3 separate regions of the Homo sapiens genome follow, and all the other regions are linked to region 3. The links are contacts of gene promoters, found by promoter capture Hi-C in human tissues and cell types (Jung and others, 2019). All regions are on one chromosome and are shown on one strand. The core of a region is centred on a gene start or on the middle of the fragment in contact, and the rest is flanking DNA. Distances in the headings are between cores, read along the strand shown.

Evidence for each region. Contacts are between HindIII fragments. The study calls those that stand out against the background at their distance.
Region 1: a fragment that was not itself captured here is called in contact with the fragment with the promoter of KRTAP27-1 in region 3 in 2 of the 25 tissues and cell types used here (aorta and dorsolateral prefrontal cortex).
Region 2: a contact is called between a fragment that was not itself captured here and the fragment with the promoter of KRTAP27-1 in region 3, in 1 of the 25 tissues and cell types used here (dorsolateral prefrontal cortex).

What each region holds. Positions count from the first base shown.
Region 1 is chr21:30,875,969-30,880,372 of GRCh38, reverse strand. No RefSeq gene overlaps it. Among named protein-coding and RNA genes, the nearest start is that of KRTAP11-1, 3.4 kb to the left of the region's middle. The HindIII fragment of the contact is 4,508 bases long and covers 268-4,404 here.
Region 2 is chr21:31,027,756-31,031,888 of GRCh38, reverse strand. It overlaps LOC105372774 (a long non-coding RNA gene), which reads right to left and starts at 1,794. Exons shown (of 3, transcript XR_937657.2): 1 at 1,611-1,794. The HindIII fragment of the contact is 5,506 bases long and covers 1-4,133 here.
Region 3 is chr21:30,334,296-30,338,943 of GRCh38, reverse strand. It overlaps KRTAP27-1 (keratin associated protein 27-1), which reads left to right and starts at 1,250. Exons shown (of 1, transcript NM_001077711.1): 1 at 1,250-1,931. The coding sequence starts at 1,276. The coding sequence ends at 1,899. The HindIII fragment of the contact is 14,979 bases long and covers 1-4,648 here.

The DNA of each region.
Region 1 (4,404 bases), core at 1,272-3,771, 540 kb before region 3:
AGAACAGGTGGTATTTAGTTTTCTCAACAGAGCTCCTTGTTTGCAAGAGTCTTTGCTGATCAGGGTCTGATTTTTTTTTTCCTGAGCCTAGAATATGGGCTTAATCATTATGCCCTGTGACCAAACCAAGGATTATCTTATATTTTACTTGTTCAGAGAGAGTCTTCAGCTGTGCGGTGAAGTAAGGGCTATGATTTTTCTTTTCTTTTCTTTCTTTCTTTTTCTTTTTCTTTTTTTTCTTTTTTTTGAGATGGAGTCTCACTCTGTCGCCCAGGCTGGAGTGCAGTGGCACGATCTTGGCTCACTGTAAACTCTGCCTACTGGGTTCAAGTGATTCTCCTGCCTCAGCCTCCAGAGTAGCTGGGATTACAGACGTTCACCACTACGCCCGGCTAATTTTTGTAGTTTTAGTAGAGACAGGTTTCACCACGTTGGCCAGGCTGGTTTTGAACTCCTGAGCTCAGGTGATCTGCCGCCTCGGCCTCCTAAAGTGCTGGGATTACAGGCCAGGGCTATGAGATTTCTAGGAGTAACTTGTCTTCTACGTCTCCTTCCATTTCTAGGGGCACATGGAATAACTTACATTTAGGAAAAAGAAAAGTTACCCAGAAAACCAGGTATTTCAGAAAGATGTGCAGGGAAGGGAGCAGTGGGATCACTGAGAAGTGCTGAGTCTTATTTAGTTAGAGGATCACAGTAGAAACCTTTGGAAAAGATTCCTCCATGATCAATCGGGATGGAAGGAGAAGGAGAAAGAAAGAGAAGGCACTTTTCAGGCCCTGAAATTAATCACATCAAAAGAGTGGCTCTAGCTTTATACCCACCTCACTCATGGTAGTGGATTAGTAGAATCTGCCAACGAGGGATACCAATTGACTGTTCGAGTCAGAGCCCTGAGAAAATTAAAGCTCTGTGTTTTAGTAAATCTGGGCAGGAGAGACTTAAAAAGAAGCTTAAAAACCTGTTGGCTTATATTAATACTTAGTCATACTTCTTGCTCGTTCTTCCCTGGAACTCGTGTACTAAATAAATCAAACCATCTGGATAGGTGGAGGTTGACATGCTAAGTCCTTTTGCCATTTTTTTTTTTTTTAAGGAAGTGAAGACTGGCTACCAACTGGTTTGCTTTTGCCCTTCTCATTTGTTCTGTCCAGAAAAACATCTTGATTTTCTTTTCAGAGTTGCTCAAGGAGATACAAAAGCAGATGATTTTTACACAAAATGGAGACATATGAGGTACACATGCCATCAACAATGGGTGTCTTTTTTCATAACAGAAATGCTGGTGTCTTGTGGAGAATTTGATCTCACTCTGTGTTGTCAGTGCAAAATGGATTTCTTATTTCTCTGATGGTTTTTCAGAGGTGAAATATATAGATTATTTCCATATAGATGCAATATTTTTAATTTTTCCCATTGATGGCTCTACTCTTAGGATTCCCCTAATTGGATTATGTTAGTATGCATGGCTCATGGTAATATCTCAACAAAGCAAGACATGGTTTTTAGTCTATATTAGTTTCATGCCCTCTCTTTTTAAAATAAGCACTCTGGCTTTTGGAAATGCTCTGATTTATTTTAAAATAGAAATCACTAGGGGAACTCTACATTGCCCTTTCAAAACTGTTATTACATGATTCTCATTTGTTGTTTATTTTAGTCACTTCACATATAATTTGGAAAATTCCCACTTTTTAAGAAGATGACAGATTAATTTTTTTTAACTTTCAGCTTTCTAGATTTCAATAAAAAATATAAAGACAGAGGTACCTTCTTTATCTTTTTATTTAGATGGTTACTTGGCTCTAATAGATAACATTTCTATATTAATAATATATAAGAACATAGCCTTTATGGTTAGATATGAGCAAGCTTTTGCCTGGGCTATTTATTGTGACAATGTGAACATTTAAGGCTGTGGTAGCTGTCTTGCAAAGCTATTTTCTTGCCTTCATTTCTGTTTTGGGAATCATCTTCTTTGCTATTAGAGCTATTCTATTTGTACTTGAACTTTGGAAGTTCTCTCCATTCTTTGCCTTATTACATAATAAATTGTAAAGTTTCAAAGTTTGTTTTTGAGAACAGTCCTTTAAAAGACAGGGCAGTGATGATTTCTTTCTCTTCATTTACAGCCTAGAAATGCAATTTGTATCCAATATCTCATAGCTCCAGGGAAGGAGCGTAACTTTTCCTGGTTCTGCCACTTGGATGCAGGTTTGTCGACGTTTCTGAGCCTTAGTTAGCTCATTTGTGTGTGAACCGGAGATAATGGTAGCATCTTACACCTTTGTTTTCAGGAGTAAATTGAGATAATACACATGTAACCCAAGTATCAGCTGAGCCATCCTGTCATTTAACATTGAAACAAAAATAGCTCTCTTATCTCCTTTTGCTGTTTGGTGGAAGTCTTGGCTGCTCCCAACATCTCCGAGGAATCTGAGAGTAGACAGGTTGGGGAAAGATGTCTAACTTTTTTCTTACCTTCTTGGGCTCTGAGCTTCTACTTGAGAAGAATTAGTTCATTTCATGAATTTTCTTCCTATGTTATGGTTGGCTTCTGTTTAGACTACCGTGATTCAGATATTTACACTTCCTTTCCATGATTTTCACTAAGATCCACTTACACAAGGCATTTGTGTTTCTAACACTTTATAGAAAGTTTGAGGACACAGAGAACATTTATACTCTAGTGATGATAACAACTTAAATCTAATTAAAATTTTTTTTATCATGGTAAAATATATATGTAGCATAAAAGTTGTCATTTTAAGTATTTTCAAGTGTACAATTCAGTGGCATTAAGTAAATTCACAATATCATGTCACTATTTCCAGAACTTTTCTCCATTCCAGACTGAAATCTCTTGGCCATTGTCTTCGGGACATTATCTCAATGTCCCAGCTCAAAATCAAATTTCTCCCTCTTTTTCTCCCTTCATTTCCTCCCTCCCTTCTTCCCTTCCTGCCACCTTCCCTCACCATCTCCTTTTGCTCTTTTCCCTCTTCATCTCCTTTCCTCCCTCTCTCCCTTCTGACTTTCTGTCAACAAACATTAGAATACCTCTAATGTTCCTGTTATCCCAGCACTTTGGGAGGCCAAGGCAGGTGGATCACGAAATCAGGAGATCGAGACCATCCTGGCCAACATAGTGAAACCCCGTCTCTACTAAAAATACAAAAAAATTAGCCAGGCGTGGTGGTGCTTGCCTGTAGTCCCAGCTACTCGAGAGGTTGAGGCGGGAGAATTGCTTGAACCTGGAGGCGGAGGTTGTAGTGAGCCGAGATTGCGCCACTGCACTCCAGCCTGGCGACAGAGCGAGAGTCTGTCTCAAAAAAAAAAATAAATAAATAAAATAAAATAAATAAATAAATAAATAAAGAATACCTCTAATGTTTCAACTTTCTATGCGAGGTGCTGGTTATGCAGTGGAAAACAAAGCCATTACTATTCCTGCTCTCCTGAAGCTCATAGTTGGGTTGTGAAGGACAAACTCACTGATTCTTCAATATCTTCTCCTATATGCTTTGCTCCCCTTAGGGCTTCACATTTTACTTCCAAATGCCTTACTTTTCTCCTCCAATGCATATAAAGGCTTACCAAGATGCTACATCATGCAAGTTATCAGTGAAGGATGGATGGATATTCTATCCTTTTACTTATATGTTGCTTGCTTATAATGAAACTATGTTGAAAGCTGAAAGTATAACCTACCTTTGGAATATCTGACTTTAAATCTGAGAGATCTAAAGCTTGTAAGACTCAAAGGAAGGTATTGAGATTTGGTCAAATAGCAGGAATGAATACTCGACACATTGGGACACAGGCCGGAACAGTCCCTTTAAAGCTATCCATGTAGATAGATAAAGGTGGGCTCTGATCTTCGACTTTAACCTTGTTAAAGACCTAGGCTTGGTCTTTTTAGATTTTCTGAAAACTCCTACCTGTGCTTACGAGTTTGTAAATGGCTTCCTATTTGAAAGACTTTGTGTTTGCCTTTATAAGTCTGAAAGCTTTACTTATTAGGATCTCTCGCTGCAATCTCTTTTGTAAACTGTGCTTTCCTATGTTTAACTGCCTGATGGGCATGTTCAGAGAGATGCCTAGAGTAATACTCAAAGACATTTTCTTTTTTTTTTTTTTTTTGAGATGGAGTCTCACTCTGTTGCCCAGGCTGGAGTGCAGTGGCGTGATCTTGGCTCACTGCAACCTCCGCCACCTGGGTTCAAGCAATTCTCCCCCCTCAGCCTCCCAAGTAGCTGAGATTACAGGCACCCGCCACCACACCCAGCTAATTTTTCTTGTGAGTATATTTTTAGTAGAGACAGGTTTTCACCATGTTGGCCAGGCTGGTCTCGAACTGACCTCAGGTGATCTGCCCACCTTAGCCTCCCAAAGTGCTGGGAT
Region 2 (4,133 bases), core at 1,270-3,769, 690 kb before region 3:
GTTTTATGAAATTCTAAGCAGAGAACCCAGCCAGGCTTACTGAATTTCTGACCTACAGAACTGTGAGATAATAAAATGTGGTGTTTTAAGTTGCTAAATTTTGGGTATTGTGTTTTGCACCAATAGAAATCTAATACATCCTCTCAGATTAAAAAGAAACCACTAATCCCCTCTCATTGGGCAATTCATGAATCAGAATAGCTGGATCTCTTATCTTCTACCCATTTCCCCCATATATTCCTAGGGTTATCATGAGAAAATTCCATGGAATCCAATCTCAGCTGTACTTCCAATTCGCCATTTGAATGACTCTTCACGCTCAGCCAGGTGTTCTGGTAACTGTTTCTCTTTGGGGAGCCAGGAATGGCCATTGACCAGTTGGGAAACCAAAGCTCAGAGGAAGCTTATGTGAGGTCATACAGAAAATTGGTGGCAGATCAGCTGGGCGTGGTGGCTCAACGCCTGTAATCCCAGCACTTTGGGAGTTCGAGGTGGGCGGATCACCAGGTCAGGAAGATGGAGACCATCCTGGATAACACGGTGAAACCCCGTCTCTACTAAACGTACAAAAAAAATTAGCGAGGTGTGGTGGTGGGCACCTGTAGTCCCAGCTACTCGTGAGGCTGAGGCAGGAGAATGGTGTGAACCTGGGAGGCGGAGCTTACAGTGAGTCTAGATCGTACCACTGCACTCCAGTCTGGGCAACAGAGCAAGACTCTGTCTCAAAAAAAAAAAAAAAAAAAAAAAAAAAAAAAAAAAGAAAGAAAATTGGTGGTAGATAGATATGGCTTGTTTAAATGTGTTTTATTTTAAAATTTCTTCTTTCCATTAGGAAGCAGAGGTCTACTCTTTTGAGCAAGATAATTCTGAAGGTGAATTTAACATCTGATGCAGTTGTAACACTTACGTAGGGAAATACTTTTCTACTCTCATTTTCAGGCATACTTTATTACCACAGCCTCTTGGGTTTTGCCAGCAAAACATCTTTTTGTGACCTCAATTATATGCTGTCGATTTGTTTAAGCCACGCTATTTCCACCTCAGTAGTGATCCAACTTGTTGGCATTGGATAGACCCTCACATTCATTGTTATGTGAATAGACACTTAAAACCATTTTGATGTAGTAAAAGAAAGTAAGTAAATTTAGGTTACTAAAGAAAACTCCTGCTGAAATCTTTGACCCTGAGCTCCAAAGAGCATAGTATAAATGCTGGGTAAACTATTTTTGTCCTCTGCTCTGTAAATGAGTTCCTTTCTTTCTTCCATTGAGTACTGTTCAGCACAGCTGCTATTTTTAGAGCCAAAAAAAAAATGGGAACTGAAAATAAAGAAATAAAACCTTGTCTGAAACACCTAAGCCTGTGAATCATGGCCTGCCTCCTGCATAGAGTGTGTGTAGCTGCTAAGTAATTTATGAATGAAGGAGTGTAGACCAGGGATGGCATCAACAAAAAGAACTAAGACTGATGGATTCTATTTCTATTTCCAAACTGATGATGAAATGACTTCAGATAAGTCACTTTAACTTATTTTGGGACCTCTACCTGTAAAATAGGAAGAAACTCCTTTTTTTCTTGACAATGATATAAAGACCTGCTTAGCTTCTCACCTTTGCAGACTTCTCGTTTAAGGCTTGATTCTCTGAAGCTCCTCCTTTAATATTCAACCCTGTACAACAGCAATGGGATCCATGCTTTTCCTTGGGACAAAGGAACTCAGGACAATAATTCAAATGATTCAGCCTTAGTGCTGGTTCACTTGGAGTGTTAGCCCTGGTTGGGTTCTGGCTTTGTTCTGTGTGATCTAGCCCTTTCCTATGACCTCATTCTAGTAACTGGATCCCCAGATTGTTTTATTACATCTGAGCCTCTCCTTTGGTTTTCGATCTGCTATGCCACTTCCTCTGAGACTAAAGCTCTGCAGCTGATCCTTTTTGTCCCTGCTGTCATATTTCAGCCAGAGTATCCAGTTTAGGTAAGGTTTCAACTCTTTGTCCATCTATGCCACCACTTTTTTTTTTTTTTTGAGATAGAGTCTCGCTCTGTCGCCCAGGCTGGAGTGCAGTGGCACAATCTTGGCTCACTGCAAGCTCCACCTCCCGGGTTCACACCATTCTCCTGCCTCAGCCTCCTGAGTAACTGGGACTACAGGCGCCCACCACCATGCCAGGCTAATGTTTTGTATTTTTTTTTTTTTTTTTAGTAGAGACAGAGTTTCACCGTGTTAGCCAGGATGGTCTTGATCTCCTGACCTCGTGATCCACCCACCTCAGCCTCCCAAAGTGCTGGGATTACAGGCGTGAGCCACCGCGCCCGGCCATATGCCACTACTTCTTGAAAGACAATCCTTGAAGACAATTCATTAAAAAATTTTAAATTCAATGTTGAGGAAACCCCCAAAATACTTGTAAAATATGCATAAAATATAAAGACTAATGATACAGTGAATATCTGGAGTATCTCACCTGGTTACCACCACTATCACTACCAAAAAAAAAAAAATTATTGTTACCATTGAAGTCCTTGTCCCATTCCCTTTCCTCTCTACTCAGAGGAAACCACCCTGGCTGAATTAACTTGTGTTTATCTCTCGCTCTCGCTCTCTTTTTTTTTTTTTTTTTTGAGACTGAGTCTAGCTCTGTTGCCCAGGCTGGAGTGCAGTGGTGCAATCTTGGGTCACTGCATGCTCCGCCTTCTGGGTTCACGCCATTCTCCTGCCTCAGCCTCTCGAGTAGCTGGGACTACAGGTGCCCGCCACCGCGTCTGGCTAATTTTTTGTATTTTTAGTAGAGACAGGGTTTCACCATGTTAGCCAGGATGGTCTTGATCTCCTGACCTTGTGATCTGCCCGCCCCGGCCTCCCAAAGTGCTGGGATTATAGGTGTGAGCCACCGCACCCAGCCTATCTCTCTCTTTTTGTAACTTTAGTTTTCCCAGACGGTATATCCCTAAGTAACATATTATTTAATGTTGTATATTTTTGAACTTTATATAGATAAATTATAGTGTATGTGTTATGATATTTCCTTTTTTAGTTCAACATTATGTCTCTGAGATACTCCATGTTTTTACATTTACCTGTAAATTATTAATTGTCACTTCTAGAAGGCAGTGTTTTCATTGCATGACTCTCACATAGTTTGTTACCTCTGCTATCCTTGATGAACATTTGGATTTTTGCTATTTTTATTATGAAAGGGACTGCTATGAATATGCACCTGTCTTCTAGAAGAAACACTTGCTGGTTGATACAGTCTTCAAAGATGCTTGTCTCAATTTATAATCTCACCAGAAGGATAATTCCATATCCTTGCCAACATTAGATTTTGTTAGGCTCTTTAACTTTTGTCAGTCTGGAAGTCATAATATAGTACCTAATTGTGGTTTGAATTTTTGTTTTCTTGGCGATTAACAAAACTAAGAATCTTACTTGTATTTTTTTGGTCCTTGGATTTTCTCTTCTCTGAAGAACTGTTTACATTTTTTGTTTCAGTTTCCTACCAGTCATTTGCTTTTTAAAATGATTTGCAGAAGTTCTTTGCTCAGTTACTATTCCTTTGCCAGTAACATCTAGGGCAAACATTTTTTTTCCCAGTTTGTGGGTTGTCTTTTTATATTTCATATCTTTTAGGACCAAAAATCCTTAATTTTAATTTAGCTAATTTATCTCTTTTAAAAAATGACTTGCATCTTTTGCATCTTAAGACAATTTTCCTGGCCCAGTGTGGTGGCTCCTGCCTGTAATCCCAGAACTTTGGAAGGCCAATGTGGGAGGATTGCTTGAGGTCAGGAGTGAGACCAGCTTCAGCAACATATTGAGACCCCATATCTACCAAAAAAAAAAAAAAAGACTTTTTTCGTTCTCCTAATATCACAAATATGTTGTCCTATATTTTGACTAAAAGTTGTATAGTTTTGCCTTTCATATTTATGTCTTTAATCTATCTGGAATCTGTTTCTGTGCAAGAGGTTAAAAAGGGCTTTGATTTAATTTTTTCCAAACCAATAACAATGTCTAAGTAATGTTTATTTAAAGTCTATTCTTTTCCCACTGGTGTGCAATGCCAGCTCTGACATAAATCAAGTTTCAAGTCTGTTTCATTGATCTGTTGCTTTTCCCTGTGATAATTCTA
Region 3 (4,648 bases), core at 1-2,500:
GATCTTTAAACATACAAGTGTGGTTATTCAAAATTATAAATGACTTGCGTGTGTTACAAAGGTATTGTATACAAGATGAGTGTGCAGCCTATAAAGCTGAAAGTATTCAGATGTGCCCTTTTAAATTTATAATATCCTCAGTCTTTCAAGGAAGTGTTTGCATAAGAATTACTGAGAATTGCTGAATGTTCTTGGGCTTCTTCAGACCTTAGAAAGGGAGTCTAGTTAGTGCACTAAGACTATACTTCTATTTTATTGTCATTAGCTGAGCCAAATATATTATAGAATATGTTATAGAAATTGTGCTGGTTGGCTCTGTGCCATGAGTATGAAACTATGCTAAGAACGGTGTCCTAATGCGATAAACATAGGAACTGATCATCTGTCTGCAGTCAATAAAAAAAGCACAGAATAAAGATGAAAAATATCTGAAGAAGGTTCATTATAAAGGAAAATAATCAACCTTTGAGAAGCACAAACACAAGTAAACACACCACTTTGTCAAGTATAGAAAAAAGGAATTAAATCCATTAGTAATTCAGAAAAGGAAGAAATAACTCCTAAATGGGAAGATTGGGGAAGACTTCAGGAAAAGGACGCATTTAAACTTGGCTTTCAAGGAGATTAGGGAAACGAAATGTTAGGCAAAAGACAAGTATTTATTGGGCAATGGCCACACTCAGTACTTTGCATGAACACTGAGAAGGAATGTGATCACAAAGTCCTCTCACATTCTGGTCCACTGGAGAGAACAATATCTGAGTGGAATGAGATTGGGCTCAACCTGGATCCAATTCTAACTTTAAATGTCTTGAACATCAAATTACCACATTCTGCTACATTGGCAGCTCTCAAAACCAGTGCTAAATGTTAATCAGTATTCAGTTGGCCACTGCCTCATGCATTTCTCATTGTCCACTTACCAATGTGCAGAGTCATGGTGGCAAAAAAAAAAAAAAATGTTAGCTTGGTTGGACAGGTTTAGACTCTTATTTGACCAACCCCACCTTGAATGAGTCATCTTTGGAGCTAACATAAAAGCCATTTTGAAGATTCAAAATGGACTTACATCTTTGTTAATAAGACATCATCTGCATATATAACCAAAGTGGTAATGAGATGTTATCCTTCAAATTAGTTTAAGCAATGAGTTGCAAAGAAGTCTTGAGAAGCCAACACCCAGGTTTCTGAGTATATAATCGCCGCACCAAAGAATTTAATTTTCAAACTCAGCATGTTGAGTCCTTATGACCATCTTTAAGGATTTTTAGCAATATGCCTCATAGCCACTGCCATTCACTCAGGAGCTTCCACAATGCCCCACCACTCTCTGCCATCACACATGGCACTAATCCTATAACCTTTGAAGACAGATTGTGTTTGCCCAGCAGCTTCCATAGCAGAACCTGTTTCCTGGACAACTTTCAAGAAACCTGCAATGAAACCACCAGCTGCCAAATGACCAATTGTGAACAGGACTTATTCACAGACGATAGCTGTGTGCAAAGTAACTGCTTCCCCGGAGTTGTCCAAACTACTTACTCCAATTCCAGGCCCTGCGAAAGGACAGCGTGCCAATCAGAAAGTTCTTCAGCAGGGCTGGCTTGTGTTTCTCAGCCTTGCCAATCAGAAAGCACTCAGCAGATGGGTTTTGTAGCCCAGAGCTGCCAACCTGCAAGCCTCAAGGGAAACAGTTGCCCACCCAAGACTTCTAAGTCTAAAAATTTCGAAACTCTGGAACGTGCATCTAGCCAATGTCAGTGTCAGTCTCAGAACCCTGAATCCAGTTCCTGTAGACCTCTGGTCAATGTTGCACCTGAGCCACAACTCCTGGAATCTTCTCCAGGAGTTGAACCAACTTGCTGTGTTACTGGTGGTTCTCAATTGCCTAGTAAGTGAAGATCTGTAGGGGAGATGGCTTATATTCTCATTTGGATGAATTTATTTTTGAGATACTTAGATATTTTGTATTTCTTTAAATAAAAAATGTTGTGTGTGTTTGTTAGTAAATGAACATGTCTTATTTTACTACTGTCTCCAAAGACAAGATTTTTTTTCTTGTTTTTCTTTTGGGTATGTCTAGTGGTAATCTGGGGTTGGAAAGCATGCTAGCTATTTTAGAGCAGTAGGATACGATTTGTTATTAAGCAATAAGAGCTGTAGCCAGGAAATAACATGAATACTTAAAGGAAACATCACACTTTAACTGCAAGTTGTTTTCTTTGGAAATACTTAGCATTGGATCTGGTTTATTAAGTAATGTGCTACTAGTCTCAGAAATTCATAAAATATTGGAACCAAACCTAAAAGCCTACCTAGTCCTGTGAATTACGATAGGTTCAACTCTATCAGAGGTTGCCCAAGTAGTTAATAACATCAGAACCACAACTAAAATCCAGGCCTACTCACTGGCCATCTGTTATTTTAGCCATTGAATCACAACATTCTCAAATTAACTAGAAGATTAAGTCTATTGTTCGAATAGAGCAAGGTAATTTTGAATTTCACCTCCATGGGCTTTATAACCACGTAGCAACCAGAAGCCTTTAAATAGAATGAATTGAAGTTTAGAATCTTCACTTCATTTCGTTCCCGTTGTTTTTTTGGTTGTTTGTTTTTTTCCTGTTTTCATTATTTCTTAAGTATTTTTTGAGTTTGGAAAATATTCTTTGTATTAAATAAATTTGCTTTCTTTGGAAGCAAAATTTGGACTTGTCACACTATTATTTTTATTCAATCCTTTTGCAGGTGTTATGTTACAGGCTTTTTGTTTCTTCGTTTGTTACCTAATGAAAATAGTATAAATATTTAGAAGAAAAGAGAACATATCCTCTTGTTATAATTTTTATAGTGTGAACCAGAAAAGAATAACTCATGGTGGTAGTCAACAGAAGATGGAAAATATACTCATATGAACATCATAAGACCATAGAGTCAGATGTTTGAAATTGATTAATTTTATTTAGGTAGCTTAGCTATTCTGAAACTTTTGGTGTGTTCTTAAATTGATCTTTCAATTTTTTTTTTTTTTTTTGAGATGGAGTCTCGCTATGTCACCCAGGCTGGAGTGCAGTGGCGCAATCTCGGCTCACTGCAAGCTCTGCTTCCTGGGTTCACGCCATTCTCCTGCCTCAGACTCCCGAGTAGCTGGGACTACAGGTGCCTGCCACCATGCCCGGCTAATTTTTTGTATTTGTAGTAGAAACGGGTTTCACCACATTAGCCAGGATGGTCTCAATCTCCTGACCTCGTGATCCGCCTGCCTCGGCCTCCCAAAGTGCTGGGATTACAGGCGTGAGCCACCATGCCTGGCCTTGGATCTCACATTTTTTCAGGGCAAAATAAGGTAGTGGTTGAGAGCATGAACTCTGAATATGGATTTCCTTGAGCTGGAATCTTAGCTTTGCTTAGTGATGGCTGTTTAAGTTCCAACTGTGTGACTGTGTGCAAGTTATTTAACCACCTCAGTTTCTTCAACTTCAAAAGTGAAGGATAATAATAGGGCTACTGTGAGCCTTAATAAGTTAATAAATTGAAAGTGTAAGGCTTAAAAAATTACCATGTATATAGCATATTTAGCAACTCAGCTAGCTCAGAGACTTGGTATGGGGGAGGTAGTGGGGATTTGTAAATAAACCCAGAAATCCATGAGAGATTAGGAAAGCTAGTCATCCAACAAAAGAGAGATTAGCTGTTTTGTATTTTGGAAGATGCAGGCAGCATCATCTACTAAGGGAGAAAATTAAGAAACTTAAACGCTGTCTAGTTGAAGTAAATTGGCAAGTATCTCTGAATCTATGGCAAACCTAATGCTACTGATAATTTACCAGTTAGTTCTGAGGGTGGGTGCCATGGTAATTCTATGTATCAACATGATTGAGCCAAGGGCTGCCCAGATTAAGCATTATTTCTGAGTGTGTCTGTGAGAGTGTTCAAGGGAGATAAGCATTTAAATCAGTGTGCTCAGTAGATGGCCCTCTCCAATGTGGATGGGAATCGTTCAGTCCATTGAGGGCCTAAATAAAACAAATGGTCGGGGAAGGAGAAATGTGCCCGTTTATGTTTCCTGCAAGCCTACTTGAGCAGAGACATTGGGTTTCTCCTGCCCTTGGACTGGATTTATACCATTGGCTCCCCTGGTTCTCAGATCTTCACATTTGGACTGGAATTATATCACTGGTTTCCTTGAGTTTCCAGGTTGCAGGTGACACATCATGAGATTTCTTAGCCTCCATAATTGTGTGAGCCAATCCTTCGTGATAAATCACTCACTCTCTCTCTCTCTTCATACACACACACACACACACACACACACACACACACACACATGCATATATATACACACACATATATACAGTGAGATAAATATATATTATATATAGTCTGTCTATCTATCTATCTATCTATCTATCTATCTATCTATCTATCATCTATCATCTATCATCTATCTATCTATTTTATTGGTTCTGTTTCTCTATGTAGCCCTGAATAATACAGTGGGATAGACACAGGCCATCTCAAAGAGGAAGACTTAAGCCTAAAATCTGTAAACCACCACATACACAGGTGCTCTGTAGAGGGATAGGATTGACGGAAGTCTGAGAGAGGCCAAACACTATTCAATACCATCAATAGTACTCAGAGCCTT